Regions from separate parts of the Homo sapiens genome. Here all the other regions are linked to region 1. Evidence: promoter capture Hi-C in 16 types of primary human blood cells and fetal thymus (Javierre and others, 2016). All regions are on one chromosome and are shown on one strand. The core of a region is centred on a gene start or on the middle of the fragment in contact, and the rest is flanking DNA. Distances in the headings are between cores, read along the strand shown. Region 1 holds the start of DORIP1 (dopamine receptor interacting protein 1). Region 2 overlaps FANCM (FA complementation group M). Region 3 overlaps FANCM (FA complementation group M).

Region 1 (4,483 bases), core at 714-3,213:
CCAGCACTTTGGGAGGCCGAGGTGGGCAGATCACCTGAGGCCAGGAGTTTGAGACCAGCCTGGCCAACATGGTGAAACTCTGCCTCTACTAAAAATACAAAAATTAGCTAGGCATGGTGGTGCACGTCTATAATCCCAGCTACTCGGAAAGCTGAGATACCAGAAACTCTTGATCCTGGGAGGCGGAAGTTGCAATAAGCCGAGATCATTCACTGCACTCCAGCCTGGGTAACAGATCAGGATTCTGAAAAAAAAAAAAAAAAAAAAAAAAAAAAAAGGCAGAGTTGGGGGGCGGTAGGTAAGCAGAAACTTAAGTGTGATGGGCATACTCATTTGATCACAGTGATGGTTTAAGGGGTTATACATATGTCAAAACTGATAAAAATTATACACTTTAAGTATGCTCTATATATTCTATGCCAATTATACTTCAGTAAATATATCTAAAAAAACCCTACAACTCAGATGTCAGATTTTGAAGACGGTGGAAAAGATGCAGAATGGAAATTTCAGTTAAAGGCCTCAGTGATGTTTGTGAGTTATCCAAGTATTCAAGGAATCCATGCTTCCTCCATCTAGCTGAGACTCGGCAGAGTTTAATGAGCAATCTCAATACTATTCTCCAGAAATGGTGTCATCCACCATACTATGGCTGTTTTCAGGAAGAGAATGACCTAATCAGTATAAAATGAACTCCATGTCTTGTGAGAGATTTATAATTAAACACATAATCCACATTTACAAACATTTTTAAAGGGCTTTTCTACCTGTAGGAGAGGATTAATATTGAGAGTGAACTTTTTGCAAGTTTTCCAACACACTAGTTTATCTCTAAGAGCCTCAGTTTCCTCATCTATAAAATACCATAAGAAATAAGAAAAAACAGGAAACTAAAAAGAGCAGGCTTTGCCAGAGCTATTAATTATTCTTTTTTGGGCAGAGCCAAAACTCAAGAAATGGAAGTCTCTCTTCCATTTCTAGACTTTTTTAGAGAGATCCATGAGGAAGTTCCCCTCCATAGCTTTGGCCGACCATCACACCGGTCAAGAAGGCATCCAGCCTCTCCCAGGCTCAGCCTGTGACGGAAAACCACACTGATTTACTAGGATAGCCTTGAGCTCTCTCATTAGCCCTCACGTGTTCTGAACGTTAGAGCTAACTTTCCAGACCCTCATTATTTGTTGAAAGGCTGGATGGGGAAAATCTCAACCAGATCTCCATGCCTACTTGCAAGGAGAGGTAGTTTTTGCAGGGTGGCCTGTGTTCTCCAGATGCAGAGCCATACAGGGCCTTGCTTCTTTACGGGAGATACAAAAACTCGGCCCTAATAAACAGAAATAGTGGTTGAGCCCACAAACTAGCATTAAGTTGTCCTAACTGTAATTTCCAGCTCCGTCACTTGCTGTGTGGGACCTTATTATCTCCAAAACCCAATTTTTTCAACTTCACAATGGAATTAAAACAATCTAATTTTTCAAAATGGGGTTAACTTCCACTGTAAGTTACAGTATATTGGCCAATAATTAACTTGAACACTAAAGCTGGCATTTAACAGATCAATTCAACTGTTTTCTAAGTAAATACTTAAACGCTTAAAAAACCGTAATTTACTGAGAAAACAAAGCTTTCTTTCTAGGTTAAGAATTTGAGAAAACAAGACCCAGAAGCAAACTAAAATCAAGTCCTAAAATGGTACAAACCTCAAAAAGCCAATCAGGTTTGCCAATAAAGCTCCGCCTCCGTGCAAACTCTGCCCACTTCCGGCTTCCCCACCCACCTTCTACCAGTGGAACCCCGCCCCTCTCTGCGAGGTCCCGCCCCCCACACCTGATCCTGGTTCCCATTGGGCGAATCTGGATGCTGTATACACAGCCGACACACGCACATTAGGCTGGGGCGTCTTCGCGCCTGCGCAGCTGCGCTGTCAGGCGGCTGAAAACGGGGGGGTTGGGGGGAGGGGGGCGGAGGTCGTGCCGAATCTTCCTCCGTAATAAGAAGCGACGTGTCCCACTGTCCTGGCTCCGTGGGTCCAGTGAGATTGGGCCTGGGCGCTGGAGCTGCTGTGGCTCCCGCCGCGGCGGCTGCCATGGAGGCCATGCCAGAGCCCAGAACTCACGCCGGGGGAGGCCGAGACAGCCGGCGGTACTCATAGATGAGGCAGCGGCGGCGGCGGCGGCGGCGGCAGCCCGGGCTCTCCATGAGCAGGCGGCGGCGGCGACGGGTGCGGCGGCACCGGCAGTTTTCGGTCCCCAGGGAGGTACGAGGAGTTTGCTTCCTGGTGGACGGAGACTGGCCGGTGTGGGAACGCCTTCCGCGGCCCGGCCCTCCAGCCTATTTGTCCGCAGTTCTGAGCACTCGGCGGGGCACTGCCCGGGCAGAGGCGGGGGCGCCCAGCCGACTCGCGGGCCCCTAACTCGGGGACCCGCCCGCCTCGGTGCCAGGCCTCCCGGGCGCGGCTGCCCAGGGCCAGGGTGGGCGTGGCCGGAACGTGGGGGCTCCCCGGGGGCGCACGCCTAGCGTCCGCCTTGTCCCTGTCCCGAAGTCCCGCGCTGCTGGGAGCGGTAGCGCGTGGCTGTACAGGCGTATTTTAGGCGCTGATTTGAGAGGGGACTTTTAGAATCCCTGAGTCCTTAGGGAGTCTGGCGTTCAATGCCTTGGGCATGTGGTGGGGTCCTCACGGCTAGCTTGGGGTACCAATTTCCTCCCTTGGAAGTCACCACGAAAGAAAGATGTTTTGTCAAAGAAATAGAGGTCAGGAGAGTTTTCCAGGTTTATTCAAATTGGAGGGCCCGTAGAGCCTGGAGAATAAAGCCAGCGGAATACATCCTCCAGTCCTTCTAATTACAGTTCCTAGCTAAACAGCTAAGACAATTTTAAGTAAAGCTCTTCACAGCTATCTTTCCATCATTTTTCCCCACCCCTCATTTTTATTGCAATTTACTTTGGAACAAATCACCAAATTCATGATGAAACTAGTATCCTCTAGTTCTTCCAAACCTTCCCTCCTCCCGTTTTTTCCAGAGAAAGACTAAAGTTTCATGCCACATATGTCATTATAGTTTAATTCTCTTAGAGTGTAAGGGTAGTTACACTTCATTTGGTCATGTCTGAAGATAATGTGAAGAAAATATCCTAGAGATTTATGCTTCCTTCCCAATGCACTATTTTAGGAATCCGAACTCAGGCTCTTTAAGCAATCTTAAACCTTGCTACAAAGTTCTTTAAAATTCAACGGAAATAAATCAAACCATAAAGTTATTTTCGTTTTTAAAGTATTTGAATGCATAACTGTTTTTTAAAATCTTTGTAAACAAAACGAATCAGTATCTATTACGAAGAAACTGAGTTTGTGTTTTCCTAGGCTGCAGATTTGCCACACCCTCTTCTTCCTAAGTGGATGACTAGAATCAATGTGTTGGCCAACTAGATATAAACATCCACTCTTCATACTAAATATAGTTACTGGATATTTTAGAGTCCACAGTATCTTGCTTCAAACTGAAAACACTGTGTTCATGTGTGTTTAATATATTGCAGAAGTGAATTTTTACTCGCGTTGCAGAATGTTTTGGACTTAGTTTCTTACACAAATAAAACACGTAGGACTGCAGCTTTATTAAGTGTTGAGTTCATGTTGTGTTTGGGAGGATGCAGCACTTGGAAAAGATGGTCAAAATAAGACACTGATCTCAGTCACTCATTTCTCTGTTTCCACTCCTCAGATGCCTCCCTTTTTTCATAACAATACTTCTCCATAAAAGTAACCTCGGAAAACAATATGATGTTGTTAGTTTATTTGCTTGTCCCAAGTAAAGTGAAGGAGTTTTTTCAATACAATTGTAAAAAGAACTCATTCTTTCAAAAGTATGTGCGCTATATAACATACATATAACACAACATATTTATTAAAATACTTACTGTGGCTTTAAAAACAAAGTGCCTAGTGGTCCTCAAGGTTGGGGAAGAGTGCCAGTTTGAAAAGGGAGGATGCTTTGCTTCATTCTGAAAACATGCATAGGGAATAATCAGGATATTTATCAAGTTCTGAATCAGATCTTCATAGTATAGCCTCTGTAGTTAAAAATTATAGTATATCTAAATTGCACAATAGCACAATTCTCAGTTGCAAATAAAAATCCCAAAGTGATTAGCAATATTAGCTATGCTACTATTCACTTAAGATTGATTTTCATGATTACTCCTCATGCTGTCTTTCAAAGCTAAATGTCAGAATTAGTCTTAGTCTATATAGCAACAGGAGTTTTTTTTTTTACATAGTTTTTCTCTACAACAAATAAAATATGTAGTATAGTTAATATAAAGATTATGTAATGGCTATTATTCTGTACCCCCAATTAAGGATCCCATTATATTAGTTTCTTAAGTGGAATCACCCATATTAACAAGAAAATGAAGCAAGCACAGCCTGTATTTTGGAAAGATGAGGAGGTTTACATTAGGAATATGCCTAACCAAAGTTAAT
Region 2 (4,483 bases), core at 822-3,321, 280 kb after region 1:
TTTTCAATGTGACAGAATTTTTATGGTTTCAGGTCTTAGAGGTAGGGCTTCGATCCATCTTGAGTTGATTTTTGTATAAGGTGAGGGATGAGGATCCAGTTTCATTCTTCTGCATGTGGCTTGCCAGTTATCCCAGTATCATTTGGTTGAATATGGTGTCCTTTCCCCACTTTATGTTTTTGTTTGCTTTGTTGAAGATCAGTTGGCTGTAAACATAAATTATGCTTTCATAAGCATCCTTGTAAACCAAAACAAAAAATAAAATTTTTGTTTTGAAATTATATTTAAAACTTTAAATTTGATGTTATTGTTTATTTTGTTTATTATTAACAAATTCTTTGTTAACTTTGTGAAAGTCAAGAGAACTGATCAAAGGTTGTAGATGTGCCTGGAGAGCTGGGAAAACAACCTCAGAAAAGATTTCTTTTAAAATATTTAACTGTTTGCTCTTAACATGGAACTATATAAACAGGAATATTGTCAACTTGTAAGTCATATAACAGTTACTTAACAAATATATTTTAAAGGGCATCTTTCTGCTTTATGAAATTATTTTCTTTTTTTCTTCTGAGATTTTAGTTGGGAGTATCTAAATGGATCCAAATTATGTTAAGCTGATTATATGTATATTGAGTGTTTTTTAAAATTAGTTTGTGAAATCTCAGTATGTTTTCATCATTTTTATTACTTTTTAAATAATTAAGGCTCAAGAATCAACCACTGGAATTCATCAACTCTCTCTCTCTGAATGGAGACTGTGGCAAGATCATCCTTTGCCTACACATCAAGTTGATCACTCAGATCGATGCCGCCATTTTATAGGCCTTATGCAAATGATAGAGGGAATGAGACACGAAGAGGTGGGGTTTTATTGTAACTTTCTCTTGCTGGTATGATAGTAAAACTAGAGTACTTAGCTTTTATTTTTCTTAATTTGAAGTAATAAGAAATACTTTGTTTTTCTGTATAGTTCCTTGTGATCTCAGTAAAGAATGAGTTTTCTGCCTTAAGAGAAGAAATAGATTTAATTAATTAGAAGAAGAATATCATCTGTAAATATTGATAGACCAGAGTAGAATTTTAATATACTTAAATGATTTATGTAAACTGTTTGTAAACCTTATTTAGGATTCTTTTGGATTCGGATTTATTGAAATACTCTCTGTCATCTAGGTTATTTGATATCTTTCTTGTATCCTGGTCCTAGTTTAGAGAATTATAGATTCCTTGAGCAGTTCCTTGATTATTCTTCCTAGAGTCAGCATAGTGAACCAATTATGAGTGTGAAATCCATAGTGCCTGGGTTAGAATCCTAACTCTGCCTCCTACTGATTGTGTGTTTGTAAGTTATTTAACCTCTCAGTGCTTCAGTTTTATCTGTAAAATAGTCATAGTGATAATACTTATTTCATAAGGTTGTTGTGAGGATTAAATGACCTAATATATGTAAAGCACGTAGTAGCTGGCATATGATAAGTACACAGTAAATTGTAGCTCCTATTTTTATTATTAGCCTTTGATCATGCATACATGTAAATAAAGTAGTTAGATGTGGATCCCAGCAAAATGTGTGCAATCAAATTAACATATATTTATTGAGTGCCTTCTGTGTGCCACACTCTATTCCCTGCTTTATGGCTATAACCGTTAGCAAACAGAGAAAATATTCTGTTTATGTGGAGTATATATACTAGCAGGGAGACAGACATTTGCTCACATTAATGCTTATTATATTTATTATTCAAAAAAGCAGAGGGCCAGGTGCGGTGGCTCATGCCTGTAATCTCAGGCTTTGGGAGGCCGAAGCAGGCAGATCACTTGAGGTCAGGAGTTCGAGACCAGCCTGGCCAATATGAGGAAACCCTGTCTGTACTAAAAATACAAAAATTAGCTGGGTGTGGTGGCACATGCCTGTAATCCCAGCTACTCAGAAGGCTGAGGCAGGAGAGTCACTTGAACCCGGGAAGCGGAGGTTGCAGTGAGCCAAGATCAAGTCACCGTACTCCAGCCTGGGCGACAGAGCGAGACTTTGTCTAAAAAAAAAAAAAACAAAAAAACCAGAGAGGTAACTGCTTAAGTCTATAAGTAGTAGAGGAATCCTGATTAAAGTAGCATTCTTAGGGGAAAGGAGGGATGGTGGAGATTGTAAGTTTTAGCTAATAACTTAGAGATAAGTAAGACTTAGAAATTCACTATACGAATCCTTGATTAGGAACTTTGTTACAAATAGAAGTATATTCCAGGATACAACCTAGCAGACATACAGGTACTACTATGTTGGACATTCCAAAAGCTATTCTTAGTTTACTGTCATTGAAAGAGTAAATTTAACAAATGTATATGGTTTTTATTAATATATGTTTTTAAAATATCTATTTTTAAGAAATTAGAATAATTCAGTTAAATGTTAGAAATGTAAAACTCACTATATTCTTATGTATTCATTCAATTTGTTCTTCCTACAAATAGTTACCAAGGGTCTTTTGGGTATTAAGTACTGGGGATACAAAAAAGTTAACTGATTAATGATAACTTGATAGTTTCACAGTAGTGTACTTTATAATTTTGATTTATCGGAATAACTTTTAAGGTATAAAAGAATATCACTGGAACAATGTAATAATATAAATATTTTAATATAGAGTGAAACTCCTCTCTTAGATTTGGCTTTCTGTTTTGTTTTGTTTTCCTGTGGCTTTTTAAATTTTCCTTATTTATAGGGAGAATGCAGCTATGAATTGGAAGTTGAATCTTATTTACAAATGGAAGATGTTACCTCAACATTTATTGCTCCCAGGAATGAATCTAATAATCTTGCCAGTGACACCTTTATCACTCACAAGAAATCGTCATTTATAAAGAACATAAATCAAGGCAGTTCATCCTCAGTGATAGAATCTGATGAAGAATGTGCTGAAATTGTTAAACAAACTCATATCAAACCTACTAAAATTGTTTCTTTAAAGAAAAAAGTGTCTAAAGAAATAAAAAAAGATCAGCTTAAAAAAGAAAATAATCACGGTATTATAGATTCTGTAGATAATGACAGAAATTCCACTGTTGAAAATATTTTTCAAGAAGACCTACCAAATGATAAAAGGACATCAGATACAGATGAAATTGCTGCCACATGTACTATTAATGAAAATGTTATTAAAGAACCGTGTGTGTTATTAACAGAGTGTCAGTTTACAAATAAATCCACTAGTTCACTTGCTGGAAATGTTTTAGATTCTGGTTATAACAGTTTCAATGATGAAAAATCTGTTTCATCTAACTTATTTCTTCCATTCGAAGAAGAGCTTTATATTGTTAGAACAGATGACCAATTTTATAATTGTCACTCATTGACAAAAGAGGTACTAGCTAATGTAGAGAGATTTTTATCTTATTCTCCTCCGCCTCTCAGTGGACTCTCAGACTTGGAATATGAAATTGCTAAGGGTACTGCACTTGAGAATTTGCTTTTCTTACCCTGTGCAGAGCATTTACGAAGTGATAAATGCACCTGTTTGCTGTCACATTCAGCTGTGAATTCTCAACAGAATTTAGAATTGAATTCACTTAAATGTATAAATTATCCATCTGAAAAAAGTTGCCTTTATGATATACCTAATGATAATATTTCTGATGAGCCAAGTCTCTGTGACTGTGATGTACATAAACATAATCAAAATGAAAATTTAGTACCTAACAATCGTGTTCAAATACACAGAAGCCCTGCACAGAATTTAGTTGGAGAGAACAATCATGATGTTGATAACAGTGACCTCCCAGTATTGTCCACTGATCAAGATGAAAGTTTGCTGTTATTTGAAGATGTTAATACAGAGTTCGACGATGTGAGTCTTTCACCCTTGAACAGTAAAAGCGAATCTTTACCTGTGTCAGACAAAACTGCTATTAGTGAAACGCCTCTGGTCTCTCAGTTCTTAATTTCTGATGAACTTTTGTTGGACAATAATTCTGAACTCCAAGATCAAATCACCCGTGATGCTAATAGTTTTAAATCTCGTGATCAGAGAGGTGTACAGGAAGAAAAAGTGAAGAATCATGAGGATATTTTTGATTGCTCTAGGGATTTATTTTCTGTTACCTTTGATTTAGGATTCTGTAGTCCAGATTCTGATGATGAAATATTGGAACATACATCAGATAGCAATAGACCTCTAGATGATCTATATGGAAGGTATTTGGAAATTAAGGAGATAAGTGATGCAAATTATGTTTCGAATCAAGCACTAATACCAAGAGATCATAGTAAAAATTTTACTAGTGGAACTGTTATTATCCCATCAAATGAAGATATGCAGAATCCAAATTATGTACATTTGCCACTGAGTGCAGCAAAAAATGAAGAATTGTTATCTCCTGGTTATTCTCAGTTTTCTTTACCAGTGCAAAAAAAAGTTATGAGTACACCACTCTCTAAATCAAACACATTGAACTCATTTTCTAAGATAAGAAAGGAAATACTTAAGAC
Region 3 (4,483 bases), core at 791-3,290, 260 kb after region 1:
TCAACCTATTAGTTTATTCTAACATTTCTTATGGAGAAGGTGGGCTTTTAATTAACTCTGGATAATGAATACTAAAAAGCTGTGAGAAATTTTGGAAGGGCTAGGGCAAGGGTGGTGGTGGGAATGTTAAGAATAAGGTACTATATAAGTTAGCATGGGGTAATATAAGGGAAGTGGAGAGTAAAACAATATATAGTACCAGTAAAAGAGTAAAGTAGATTAGGAGAGAGAGAGTTATAGAGGAGTGCTGTTTTATATAGCATGGTTATAGAAGACTTCTCTGTAGAGGGATATTTAAAGTGATGATGGAGATAAGGGAGGAAGCCTTGTGAGTTTTGGAGGCTGGGGGAGAGATAATTCCAAGCAGTAAAAATAGCAGATTCAAAGGCCTTGAGGTGGCAGTAGGGTGCTTGGTGTGATTAAACAGACCAGTGTGGTTAGATTGAGGCTACAAGTATGACTGAGCCTACAAGTGGTATAGATGAGAGGTATGCAGATAATATCAGACTTTAGTTTTTAATTTCTGAATATTTGTGCTTTGCAAAACCAAACAGAGGTATTTGTAGCAGTGGAATGACATGACATTTTAAGGATCACTCTGGTAGTTTTGTGGAGCATAGACATTGATAACCTAGAAAAGTATTACGATAGTCTTGGATGATGACACATAATAGTGGTGTTCATCAAGGCAATAGTGGTCAAGGTGCTGGGAGATAGATTCTAGATATATGTTCAAATTGGAGCCAACTTATTTATTGTATTTGTTGATGGATTAGACGTATGGTATAAGAAAAAGGGAATTGGCCAGGTGCAGTGGCTCACACCTGTAATCCCAGCACTGTGAGAGGCCGAGGTGGGCAGATCACGAGGTCAAGAAATCAAAACCATCCTGGCCAACATGGTGAAACCCCGTCTCTACTAAAAATACAAAAATTAGCTGAGTGTGGTGGTATGTGCCTGTAGTCTCAGCTACTCGGGAGGCTGAGGCAGGAGAATCTCTTGAACCTGGGAGACGGAGGTTGCGGTAAGCCAAGATTGCGCCACTGCACTGCAGCCTGGCAAAAGAGTGAGACTCTGTCTCAAAAAAAAAAAAAAAAAAAAAAGGAAAAAAGGAATCATATGGCTGGGTATATACATTTATGTGTACATGTTTGCAAATGATTACATGAGCAAAGTGAAAAATGAAGAATAGAGATAAGTATGTGAGGTAATATGTATGTTAATTAGCTTGATTTAGCCATTTCACAATGTATATAGACATCTCAAAACATATTGTACAACATAAATATATACAACTTTTATTTGTCAATTAAAAAAAAGAATAACAAAAGAAAGAGCAAACATGTTAAGATGTTTTTGAGACACCTAAGTGTCAAGTAGGCATTAGATAACCAAATCTGGATCTCAGAAGAATGATTGCTGCTGTTTTTACATATTTACATATATGTGAATACATTTTGGAGTTATCAGCATAAAGGTAATATTTAAAGTTTCAGGAATAGATGTGATTATCAGGACAACAGTTTAGAGATATACAGAGGAGGGTCCAGAATGGAGTCCTGAAGAATATCAACAGTTAAGAGTTTGGAGGAAAAAAAGCTTGGGGAGGAAACTGGACAAGTAAAATGTTAGAGAAGCTGAAGAAAGAGACTATTTCAGAAGGAAAGAGGAAAGTGTGTTAAACTAAAAAGTGTCGATTGAACTTGGCAGTATGGAAGTTATTGATGATTTTGCTGAAAGGAGCTTTAGTGGAATGAGGGTAAAAAGGCAGGCTGTGACAGATTGAAGGAGATACAGGTTTTGTGATGAAAGTAGCAATTCATTCAGGAGCTGGTCACATACAGAGACTTGATGCTTGATGCAATGATGATTCAAAAGAAGTTTGTTTAGAATAATTTTACTTGGAACAGCTGCTTCTTCAAGTCCTACGTTTTGTTTTTGTATTGTAAATTAACTTTATATTTAATAAGTCATTTATTCCTTAGAGGAGTTGTGAAGATTAAATGAGTTAACATACATAAAATGCGTAGTGCGGTCCTTGGAACACATATGATGATTAAGATAATAAAAATCAGTAGAGGTTGGATGTCGTGGCTCATGCCTGTAATCCCAGCACTTTGGGAGGCTGAGGTGGGCAGATCTCTTCAGCCCAGGAGTTCGAGACCAGCCTTGGCAACATGGCAAAACCCCGTCTCTACAAAAAAATTTTAAAATGTAGCTGGGCATGGTGGCATGAGCCTGTAGTCCCAGCTACTCAGAGCATGAGGTGGGAGGATCACCTGAGCCCAAGAGGTCGAAGCTGTAGTGAGCCATGATGGTGCCACTGCATTCCAGCCTAGGTGACCAAACATGACCCTGTCTCAAAAATAAAAACAAACAACCAAAAACCCCACACAGTATGCAATAATTAGCCAATTACTATATGTGCAAAACTATATACTGTTTCATTTATACATCAATCCATATTAGATATGAAGAAACTAAAGCTTAAAGAGTTTAAATAACTACCATGATCACCAATCACCCAGAGAATTAAGTGCCCAGCCACAAAGATCATGTTCTTATTAGTGCATTCTACTGCCCGCCACCCCCCTACCTCACCCGCCCCCCAGCACAGACATATCGGGAGCAGCTTTGGAATTCACTGTAGGGTATGTTCTGCAGTTGTCTTTGGAGAATTTGAAAGTATAGTAGATTTGAGGACAGAATGCATGGCTTGGATTAAGACATTTCCTTTAGTGAACAGAAAGGAAAGGGAAGACTTATGAAATTAGGGGGAGCTGCATAGTTCTGTGCTTCTGGCCATCTTAGAAGGTAAAGGGAAATGATAGCCATTATGCCTGAGTTGAAGGACTAGTCAAAAGTGATTCAGATAATTCATATTTGATTTGTTTAGGATTTTATTTTATGACAGCCAATGGTAATAAGCTAAGATTATTAAAATTAATAGAGAATATAGTTTAAAAAATTTCAAGATGTTTGAAATTATTTATTTATTTGTATGTTTGTTTATTAGAGACTGGGTCTTGCTATGTTATGTTGCCCAGGCTGGTCTTGAACTCCTGGGCTCAAGCGATTTCCCCATCTCAGCCTCCCAAGTAGCTGGGACTATAGGTGTGTGCCACCACATCCAGCTGAATTATTTTTTTGAAAGAATTATCATTCGTTAGCATTAACACTTTCAGGTTTGTCTTTTGAACTATTTCTTGTCTAAATGCTTTGTAAAAAGTTGTAATTAAAGTTTTTATATATATATATAGCTGAAAACACTACTGAAAAGAAACGTGATGAGACCCGAGTTATGATCTTCTCTTCATTTCGAGATAGTGTTCAAGAAATTGCAGAAATGCTTTCACAGCATCAGCCAATTATTAGAGTAATGACTTTTGTCGGCCATGCCTCAGGGAAAAGCACGAAGGGTTTTACCCAGAAGGAGCAACTGGAGGTAATTATTTTTGGAATTGATAAAAATAAAAATAAGATTGATTAGCTTTGCACTTGTTCTTTTTTTGTTAGTTTTAACTCACTGGTCAATTAGCTACTTAAAAAGAATTTTACAGTAAACGTGTAGGTAAAAATAAGCATATTTTGAAAGATGATAACAAATGTTTTATGTGGTTTTGGAACTTTTTTTTTTTTAAAGTAATGTAAAGTGTAAAAGTTAAGCAGAAAAGCTGTGGAATTATATTAACTGGGTTGGAATCCTGACTCTACCACTTAAAAGTTTCTTTACTTCCTCTTCCTCAGTTTTCCTTATCTGTAAACATACATCATAGAGTTGTTGTAAGCATTGAAAGAGATCTTATTGTAGAGCCACCAATAAATGTTTATTAAGTCGCTTTAATAATTTATTCTAAACAAATAATTAGCCTCTTTTTATTTATTTAAAAATCTTATTTTAGAAGTGGGGTCAGAAGAAACCATGATAGTATTTAAGGTAGCCTTATGCTCTGAGTAAGAGGACATTCGGTTTTCTAAGTGCTGTGATGTTTTGAGGGAAATTTTACATTATTGATTTTTATAAAATCTATGCAGCTTTTTATAAATTAACTATGTAAGTCTATACTTGAGTAGTGACTGACAATTAGATATCTCTTTAATTTCTAATTAATTTTGACAGATCCTTTTTTGATTCTGCAGACGTTAGTAGATGAGGTTTTTTTTTTGTTTTTTTTTTTTTTTTTAGATGGAATCTTACTCTGTTGCCCAGGCTGGAGTGCAGTGGTGTGATCTTGGCTCACTGCAACCTCCGCCTCCCAGGTTCAAGCAATTCTCCTGCCTCAGCCTCCAGAGAGCTGGGATTACAGGCACCCACGCCTGGCTAATTTTTGTATTTTTAGTAGAGATGGGGTTTCATCATCTTGGCCAGGGTGGTCTCAAACTTCTGACGTCTGGTGATCCGCCCGCCTCAGCCTCCCAAAATGCTGATATTACAGGCATGAGCCACCTCGCCTGGCTGGGAGGTAGTCTTCTTCTTCTTTTC

The links. The method cuts DNA at HindIII sites, captures the fragments that hold promoters and counts their contacts. A CHiCAGO score of 5 or more calls a contact.
Region 2: a contact is called between a fragment that was not itself captured here and the fragment with the promoter of DORIP1 in region 1, in 7 of 17 cell types (naive CD4 T cells, total CD4 T cells, neutrophils and 4 more). The highest score is 8.8, in naive CD4 T cells.
Region 3: a fragment that was not itself captured here is called in contact with the fragment with the promoter of DORIP1 in region 1 in 14 of 17 cell types (activated CD4 T cells, naive CD8 T cells, total CD8 T cells and 11 more); the score reaches 14.5 in activated CD4 T cells.

What each region holds. Positions count from the first base shown.
Region 1 is chr14:44,895,312-44,899,794 of GRCh38, forward strand. It overlaps DORIP1 (dopamine receptor interacting protein 1), which reads left to right and starts at 1,964. Exons shown (of 5, transcript NM_001017923.2): 1 at 1,964-2,257. It overlaps LOC101927418 (a long non-coding RNA gene), which reads right to left. Exons shown (of 3, transcript NR_110050.1): 2 at 3,919-4,002; 3 at 3,597-3,765. RefSeq lists enhancers at 1,609-1,658, 2,283-2,782 and silencers at 2,149-2,278, 2,299-2,618. The HindIII fragment of the contact is 3,873 bases long and covers 1,623-4,483 here.
Region 2 is chr14:45,172,351-45,176,833 of GRCh38, forward strand. It overlaps FANCM (FA complementation group M), which reads left to right. Exons shown (of 23, transcript NM_020937.4): 13 at 705-860; 14 at 2,721-4,483. Among named protein-coding and RNA genes, the nearest start is that of FANCM, 39 kb to the left of the region's middle. The HindIII fragment of the contact is 8,866 bases long and covers 1-4,483 here.
Region 3 is chr14:45,155,836-45,160,318 of GRCh38, forward strand. FANCM (FA complementation group M) reads left to right here. Exons shown (of 23, transcript NM_020937.4): 9 at 3,261-3,445. Among named protein-coding and RNA genes, the nearest start is that of FANCM, 22 kb to the left of the region's middle. The HindIII fragment of the contact is 887 bases long and covers 1,598-2,484 here.